Regions from separate parts of the Homo sapiens genome. Here region 2 is linked to region 1. The links are contacts of gene promoters, found by promoter capture Hi-C in blood cells and fetal thymus (Javierre and others, 2016). All regions are on one chromosome and are shown on one strand. The core of a region is centred on a gene start or on the middle of the fragment in contact, and the rest is flanking DNA. Distances in the headings are between cores, read along the strand shown. Region 1 holds the start of FLRT3 (fibronectin leucine rich transmembrane protein 3). Region 2 overlaps MACROD2 (mono-ADP ribosylhydrolase 2).

Region 1 (3,615 bases), core at 470-2,969:
AAGGGGCATATCTCTGATTTAATTTTCCCATGGTAAAACCTGGCATATTATCATTAATATTTGTAGTAGTTGGTAATGTTGATATTATTGATTGTGGCACTTTTAAAGGATTAATTTTTCTTTACTCATTTCGGAAGAGATGAATATTAGTCATCTGTCACTTTGGGTCAGGTATAAGTGATTCTCCCTGAATATAAGCAAATTTATTCTTTATGTTTAGGCTGGTCAGGATATTTTTATGCAGTCAGAGATAAATGAAAGGCATTGCTACAGCTGAAGGACTTTTCTAGTGGCTTTATTTATGTTGTTTCTGGATAATAAAATAACATAGATGAGCATTTTAGACAGATTTATTAATAGACAGATTTATTAAGAATGTTTAAAATAGCCTTATTATTAAAACCATTAGAGATTTTGGACTAAAAATTGAAAAAAAAATCAATTTTTTTTCTTTTAAATTCTAAATAAAATAATAAAAACAAACCCCCCAGATGTTGAGAAGACATGGATGGGCCTGTTGCACTCTTTACCTATATGCAACCATTTTGTTTCAGACCTAATTCAGTGAACAAAATTTTTTGAGAAGATACATTTAACTACTTTTTCAAGCTTTGTAGTATAAATGCATTTCTTCCAATATAAGATTTTCCTATTATAAGTTGCAAAGAATGGATCCTCTGCAAAACCCACTTGATAAGGGCTCTACTCATTTATTTTTCTTTCCTGCTACCCCAAACTCACTGCATACATCAGGCATAGCTTCCAGGGTGAGCTTTGTTAGTTTTTCTGAGTAGACTTAGCCATTTACTATGCTAGTCACATACTTCACTTGCCTAAGCAATGGATTTTGGTGTTCTATTGAAGAGGGAATATGGTTTGGAAGAGTGTCTCCCCCTCCTCTGAGTTCAATTTACTAGTTGAGATTTGCAAGCCTGAAATGCTTGAAGCAGCTCAGGCACGATAGCAGTGCAAGCTTTAAAATCTAGGTGTAGCTGTTAATCCTTTACAGAGGCACATAAGTCTCCAGGAGTAGCTCGGCTAGCTGTGAGCAAGATGTATGCTTTTCATGTACTGCGTACTCATGGGCTGAGGGATTATTGATTTTCTTTCACAGTTGTAAAAACAGCAATTGGTGATCATCCCACACGTACAGTACACACCAAGTTGCTTTCCTATCTGTGAAGAATCTCCTTGTATTCTTTAATATTTAACATTGAACTTTCCAACTTGCTGTTTTCCATAAGGCTCTTTTCACATAGCAATTACTCAAGACAGAAAATAGCCACTTACTATCTTTTATAAATGAAAGAAGGTTCTAAGAAACTTCTTACATTCAGCCATGATAGTGAAATTTTTCATTGCTGGCTTGCACGCACATATATTGCTTGTTGTGGTGACAGAGCAAACGTTCCTATTTGGATTTCTCATAGTATCAAGTCGTTTCTTTCTAGAGAGTAAAACCAAGCAAACTTTCTGGGACAATCATAAGAAAAAACATGGAAAACACTTACCAGGAAGACGAGAAAAAGCAATCCTATATACACTGCCGCTATAGCTGTAATTCCATTGACAGTGAATTGGAGTAATAGCCCTCCCCCGTCTCCCAAGCTCTGCGTCCAGTCCACACAAAGCCCACGGCAGCTGCAGGCTGAGCTTGTCCTGCTTCAGATCACTCCTACACTGAGGAGTGAGCGAGGGAGAGCATTCCAGTTTACTGCACACAGCCCACCTCCAAGTCTGAAGTTTAAAGCTTCACCTCGCAGTGGCTGAAGAAGGGGGTGATGTCATAGATGGGCAGGACTTAGCCAAGATCTTGTTCAGTGAGGTAACTGGATAATCAGACAGATGAGCTTTGCAAACGCTAGAGGGGGCGAGAGCAGCCAAAATGAAGCATCAGCCTGCCAAAGCTAGGATGCCATTTGGTTTGTAGGCAGCCCTTTGGAATCTCAACATTTTCTAAAGTTTACTACAAGGCAGTGGTAGCATACTTATGTATTTTTTTTAAAAAGCATGTTAGAAAGATATTTTTAAGATCACAATAGAAAAAGACAGGCTTTGTCTTATTTTTAAACCATCTGTATTGAAAAGAAGTTAACCAAAATCAAATTAGTTTTATTATTCACTAGCTAAAATAATGTTATAATTGTGGAAGATGTATGCCAGTAATCCCAACTGTGAATGTTTATTCAACATATGAATAAACAGCAGATTCAAATATATACATCAGGGCTGGGTGTGGTGGCTCACGCCTCTAATTCCGGCACTTTGGGAGGCCGAGGTGGGAGGATCACCTGAGGTCAGGAGTTCGAGACCAGCCTGACCAACATGTAGAAAAAATTAGCTGGGCGCCCGTAATCCCAGCTGTTTGGGAGGCTGAGGCAGGAGAATCACTTGAACCCGGGAGGCAGAGGTTGCAGTGAGCCAAGATTGCACCATTGCACTCCAGCCTGGGCAACAAGAACGAAACTCCATCTCCAATATATGTATATATATACACGTGTCACTGATTCATTTAGTTATGGGAAGGGCAATAGGAATGCCAAAAGATTTTTTTAAATGGTATTAAATGGTCTGTTCTTTTGGAGGCGAAGAAGTTACTGTTCTCTATGTTTTAGAAAATGAAAGTATGTTTTATGTACTTCTGCTACGTGTTTATATTATTTAAAATGGATTATTTATATTTAACGATCCCCCAATAAAATGTTTTTAAAAAATTTAATAGAATATTTTCCTTTCTAAATGTTTTTGCTGATCTGAGCATGGGTTTAGATATAAACATCTTAAGAAAAAAATCTTTCAGGGTGGTTTGCCTGGATTGAAATTATTTTAGTTTAATTTAGGTACATGAATAAACACTGGACAATTGTAAGACGTGGAGATTATAAATTTCTATGCCTAATTAACAGAATTATACTTGTATTTTTAATTATGATTTTTGTAGACTGGTTTCTGCTATTTGGTCAACAATTGCTTTGTGCCCGTAAGTTTTCCATCAAATAAGTGTATTTCACTTGTTCATGTTGGTGGTAAGAACTTAGCTTTTATATTTACCTGGAGGACCGTTGTCTTAAACTAATATCTTTATTTGCTCTATTCTTAGAGGTGCATGACCTTCTCCTTTGTCCTTTCTCAATTTTTCCCTGCATGTTTATTTCTGAAGAAGGCCAGCTAATAGTCTTTCCCAGGACTATTTGATTGTGGTCTCTTCATTAGCTTCATTTAGTTTATCTATTTATATATTTGTTTGATAACAGTTTGACCTGAGTTCCCTTCCAAGAATGGGTGATATCAAAGTAGGTGAACCCTTGATAAGAAATGTATTGACCCTATTGTTCTATGATTGCACTTTTGTGGGCCTCAGAGGACAGACCCATTAAATCTAGGAGTTTTAGATTCTAATGTCCATTGAAAAGCCAATTTCTTTGAACTGCTAGGTAGTACAATTAAACTGATATGCAGCAGCTGAATTTTGGGAGGAAAGGGAGGTGGATATTTTTCTGTTACTATGAAACAAAGACATGGATTAAATTATTTTATTAAATAATTATTTCTAGAAGCCATTTTCAGATAGGAGTTGGTTCTGTTTAAAAAAGAAAATTTTTGCCTGGTCAAATT
Region 2 (3,615 bases), core at 503-3,002, 900 kb after region 1:
TGGAAACAGATAGTTATACAACCAAACCCACATTGACAGATCCTGCACAATTTGTGTCTTCTGGTGGCCACACCAGAGAGATGATTTGAGTTAGAGGGGTGAATGAGATCAATCATTGAGCCATGAAATATAGTAATAAGAATAGCAAATGTTTCTGAACTCCCACTTGGTGCCAGGCACTGTGTTTTAGTCATTAATTCTCAAAACAATCCTGAGTTAGAAAATGTGATTTCTTCCATCTTAGAGATGAGGAATATGCACCAGAAGGAAACTGCCTTCCCTGTGGCTCAATTCCTCATCCAAGGATATGAGCCAAAACCAAGGTGATGCATATCGTGATTCTGTTTCTCCACTAGCTAAGCATTATGTTGACGACCGTAACTCCATGCATTCTGTGGGCTATTACACTAACCTGCCATCTGTAGGTTGGACCTGTAACACTACTGGTCTTAGCTCAAGTGAATTAAGGTCTTACCTTGAACAAAAAGTTGAGGTGGGATTTAAACTGAGGTAGTCTAAATCTAGTGGCCTAAGCCACTGTGAAGTTCCTTTTTCTTTCCTCCATTATTATGTGCCTTTTTTTGTCTAAACCAGTGGTTCTCAGTGGGTGTAGCACTGCCCTCTAGGGACCATTTTGTGAGGGTGGTTTTGGGCAGTGACAACAACTAGGGAGTGCCACAAGCATTTTGTGGGCAGGGACAGGGATGTTGTGACATGTGGTCTGGCCAAGCCCACATGGGAAAACTGTCCCTCCTCCCACACAATGTTTTAACGTTTTGCCAGACAGTCATATAAGTGAAAACCTGTTTATAAACACCAAGATACATCAAAACAAAGCCTCTCTCTCTTTTTCACTGTATCCTGGACTATCATGAAAATTAAAGGAAGCTTGTACTTAGTTTGCTTAGAACTTTACCAAGAGTGCCTGAGAAAATTATGCTACAGATGGCCATGCCCAAGCAGCAGGAGAGTTTTTCACACCTGGTTGAGTCCACATTTAGAGAATTTTTTTTGTAGTGATTCTACGTAGTGAAGCAAACATCTTCCTTCTTCATTGCGTGTTCTAGTGTATTCATGCCCTTGTCTTTACATGTTGAAAATAGAATTTTACTATAAATACTTTCATTTTAAATCATTTTCATATCACACTTATGGCACTCTATTGATTTTTTTTAAATTGATGTGTTGTTTTCATTTGGCTTCCCTTGGGAACAGACCCTGAGCCAAGGTGTTGTGTGCACGTGCTTTCTATAGGAGGTGATGACAGGGAACAGCGCAGAGGAGTGGGGATGTGAGGAAGGGAAGAAAAAGCAGCCAGGAGGAGTGGGAGTGTTATAAGTTGGCAGTGTGGACAAGTGGGGCTCTGTCTTGCTGGGGAGCTCTCAGCAACCATGTAGAACATGCCTAGAAGTGGTCCCATCTGAGGGAGGAGAAAAGCTGGACTATTTTTTTTTTTTATCTTTCCCCCTTCATCAGCTGGCTGAGGACTGCTCCTGGGTCATTAACTTCCCAGCATTTCTTATCTGCCCGCTTGGGCAGGCAGAAGGAAAAAGCTCAGGCAGAGAGTGACAGCAAGGGTATTTGCTAGAAGATGCTGTGGATGGGCATGTGCTAGAATGATGAGAACTGGGCAGATATGGGTGGGGCACTGATGCCTGTTTCATGTGTGCAGATGAGTGTTAATATTGATAAATGTCATTTCTGCATAGCAAGGGGACTTTACAAAATATTTGTTATAAAAGGGTTTGCTGAGCCTGATAGAATTGAGAGCATTGGTTTAAGTTAAACAGAGTTTCTAATAGAGCAAAGCTACATTGAATATGCTAAACACAGGTTGCTCAAAGATTTTTATTCTTAAAGTTAGGCATCCAAATTATCTGCTTCTTTAAGCATAGTGTGATATAGATGTCATAAAAATGGTAATTGATGTGACTGGCCTTATATCCTATAGAATACATGGTCTTATGAAAGTGAATGTAATGCTTAGCTAATAGAAAAACAATATCACGTGTTGTGTCACCTTAGTTAAAGTTTTTTCAAGATCTCATAATCCTAACCTTTGATTCATCATGCAAATTACGGAAGAGTTGGCCACCCAAGGTTGAATGCATGTAAAGTTGTCCATCAATCAGAAGACACATATTAGAGGTGAGCAATTTAAGCAGGAGTCTACCTTTGATTTTATTCTAATATAAAGTTTCTTTCAAATTATGTGTTCTTTCAATGATTTGGGAAATATATTGTCATATATTTCCTTCAAAAATCTTACTTTAGGACCGTGATCAATTCTTTTTGTAAGAGTGTCTGAAACTTTTTGCTTTATTTCATCTACAATTTGAAAGAATTATTTTTAGTCACTTGTATATTCTGCAGATGTAAGTCTACTAGCAAGACCAAGAAAACTATGTTTAAAATGAAAGTATAAAACATCTCAATTTGGCTGGATTTGTCAACATAATTATTTTCTGTTCTTTTATCAGGCTAGGGAACATTCTCAGGAAAATCATTATTGGTTTCTACAACAGTGTCTTCCAGAGGAAATACTGGCCTAGCACACTGTCAAAGAGAGTATATTACAGTGAAATTTGTATAGAAACAGTAAAGAGATTTGCAATGCAAGCTTTCATCTTGAGTGCTTTATTTTTCCCTGACCTGAGCGGCAGTTATTAGATCACTGTATCATGAGGAAATAGTCAATTGAAGACACGGACCACAGAGTCCCAAGCCTGACATTAGGTTTGAACAATTGGGCAATTTTGGCATATATCTAGAGGGTTAATAGTATAGAGCAAAGGCAATGGCTTTAAACCAAACATTTTTTCTTGCAAATGTTCAGATTTTTTTTTTTTTTTTTGGAGAGCAATTGCAATGTATGGAATCTAAGCTATTCTTAAGGTGTTGAACTCAGAAACCAAAGGAGAAAGAACAAGTAAAAACAATAAAAAATTTAAAATAAAAACAAATCTGTCAGTGGAAAGAAAGCTTTCTTGACTTGTTTATGTACAATTCAATGGAGTTGCAAAGAGGATTTTTTTTAATGGAAAACATGTCACAGATTGGGTTCAAGCTGCACTTTAGCTATTTTTGTTTGTTTATTTTATACACACACAAACACATACCCTTCAAAACTGTGCAAAGTGAAATATTTGCTTTCCTGGATGTCTTATCAAAGTGGTATAGTTTGAATTTATAATTATGAATTAAGTTCAGCAGTATATTAAACACCTAGATTTCAGCCCATACGAGTAACTTTAGTGCAGTCTCTCCATCTCTTCTGAGCCCATGTTCTGAAAATTTCCCTGCTCCCAGTATACTAGCAGGTAAGCTATCCCGGAGGATGCACAACAGAAAAGCTTATAGACCAAATTAAGAGGCATGACTCACATTGACTCAAGGAGAAAGAAGCCAGGAGAAAGAAAGAAATAGGTTAACACACTTAGACTAGGTGACAAATGTGTGGAAGAACCTCATTTTCTGGTTATGCTGTGTTTGAATGCTCTCTTTACCATCTCTACCCTCTCAATGGTGATGTGGTTATGAGGACCATAGTTGAGGTTTGAACAAGGGAGCATGGCAGATGGTGAGTGCCTGGGGCCCACTACACACACTTGCTCT

What was found. The method cuts DNA at HindIII sites, captures the fragments that hold promoters and counts their contacts. A CHiCAGO score of 5 or more calls a contact.
Region 2: a contact is called between a fragment that was not itself captured here and the fragment with the promoter of FLRT3 in region 1, in 6 of 17 cell types (megakaryocytes, endothelial precursors, fetal thymus and 3 more). The highest score is 22.7, in megakaryocytes.

Annotation. Positions count from the first base shown.
Region 1 is chr20:14,335,893-14,339,507 of GRCh38, forward strand. It overlaps FLRT3 (fibronectin leucine rich transmembrane protein 3), which reads right to left and starts at 1,720. Exons shown (of 3, transcript NM_198391.3): 1 at 1,512-1,720. The region is part of intron 3 of MACROD2 (mono-ADP ribosylhydrolase 2); the gene reads left to right. The HindIII fragment of the contact is 777 bases long and covers 972-1,748 here.
Region 2 is chr20:15,236,348-15,239,962 of GRCh38, forward strand. All of the region lies in intron 6 of MACROD2 (mono-ADP ribosylhydrolase 2), which reads left to right. Among named protein-coding and RNA genes, the nearest start is that of MACROD2-AS1, 310 kb to the left of the region's middle. The HindIII fragment of the contact is 1,732 bases long and covers 887-2,618 here.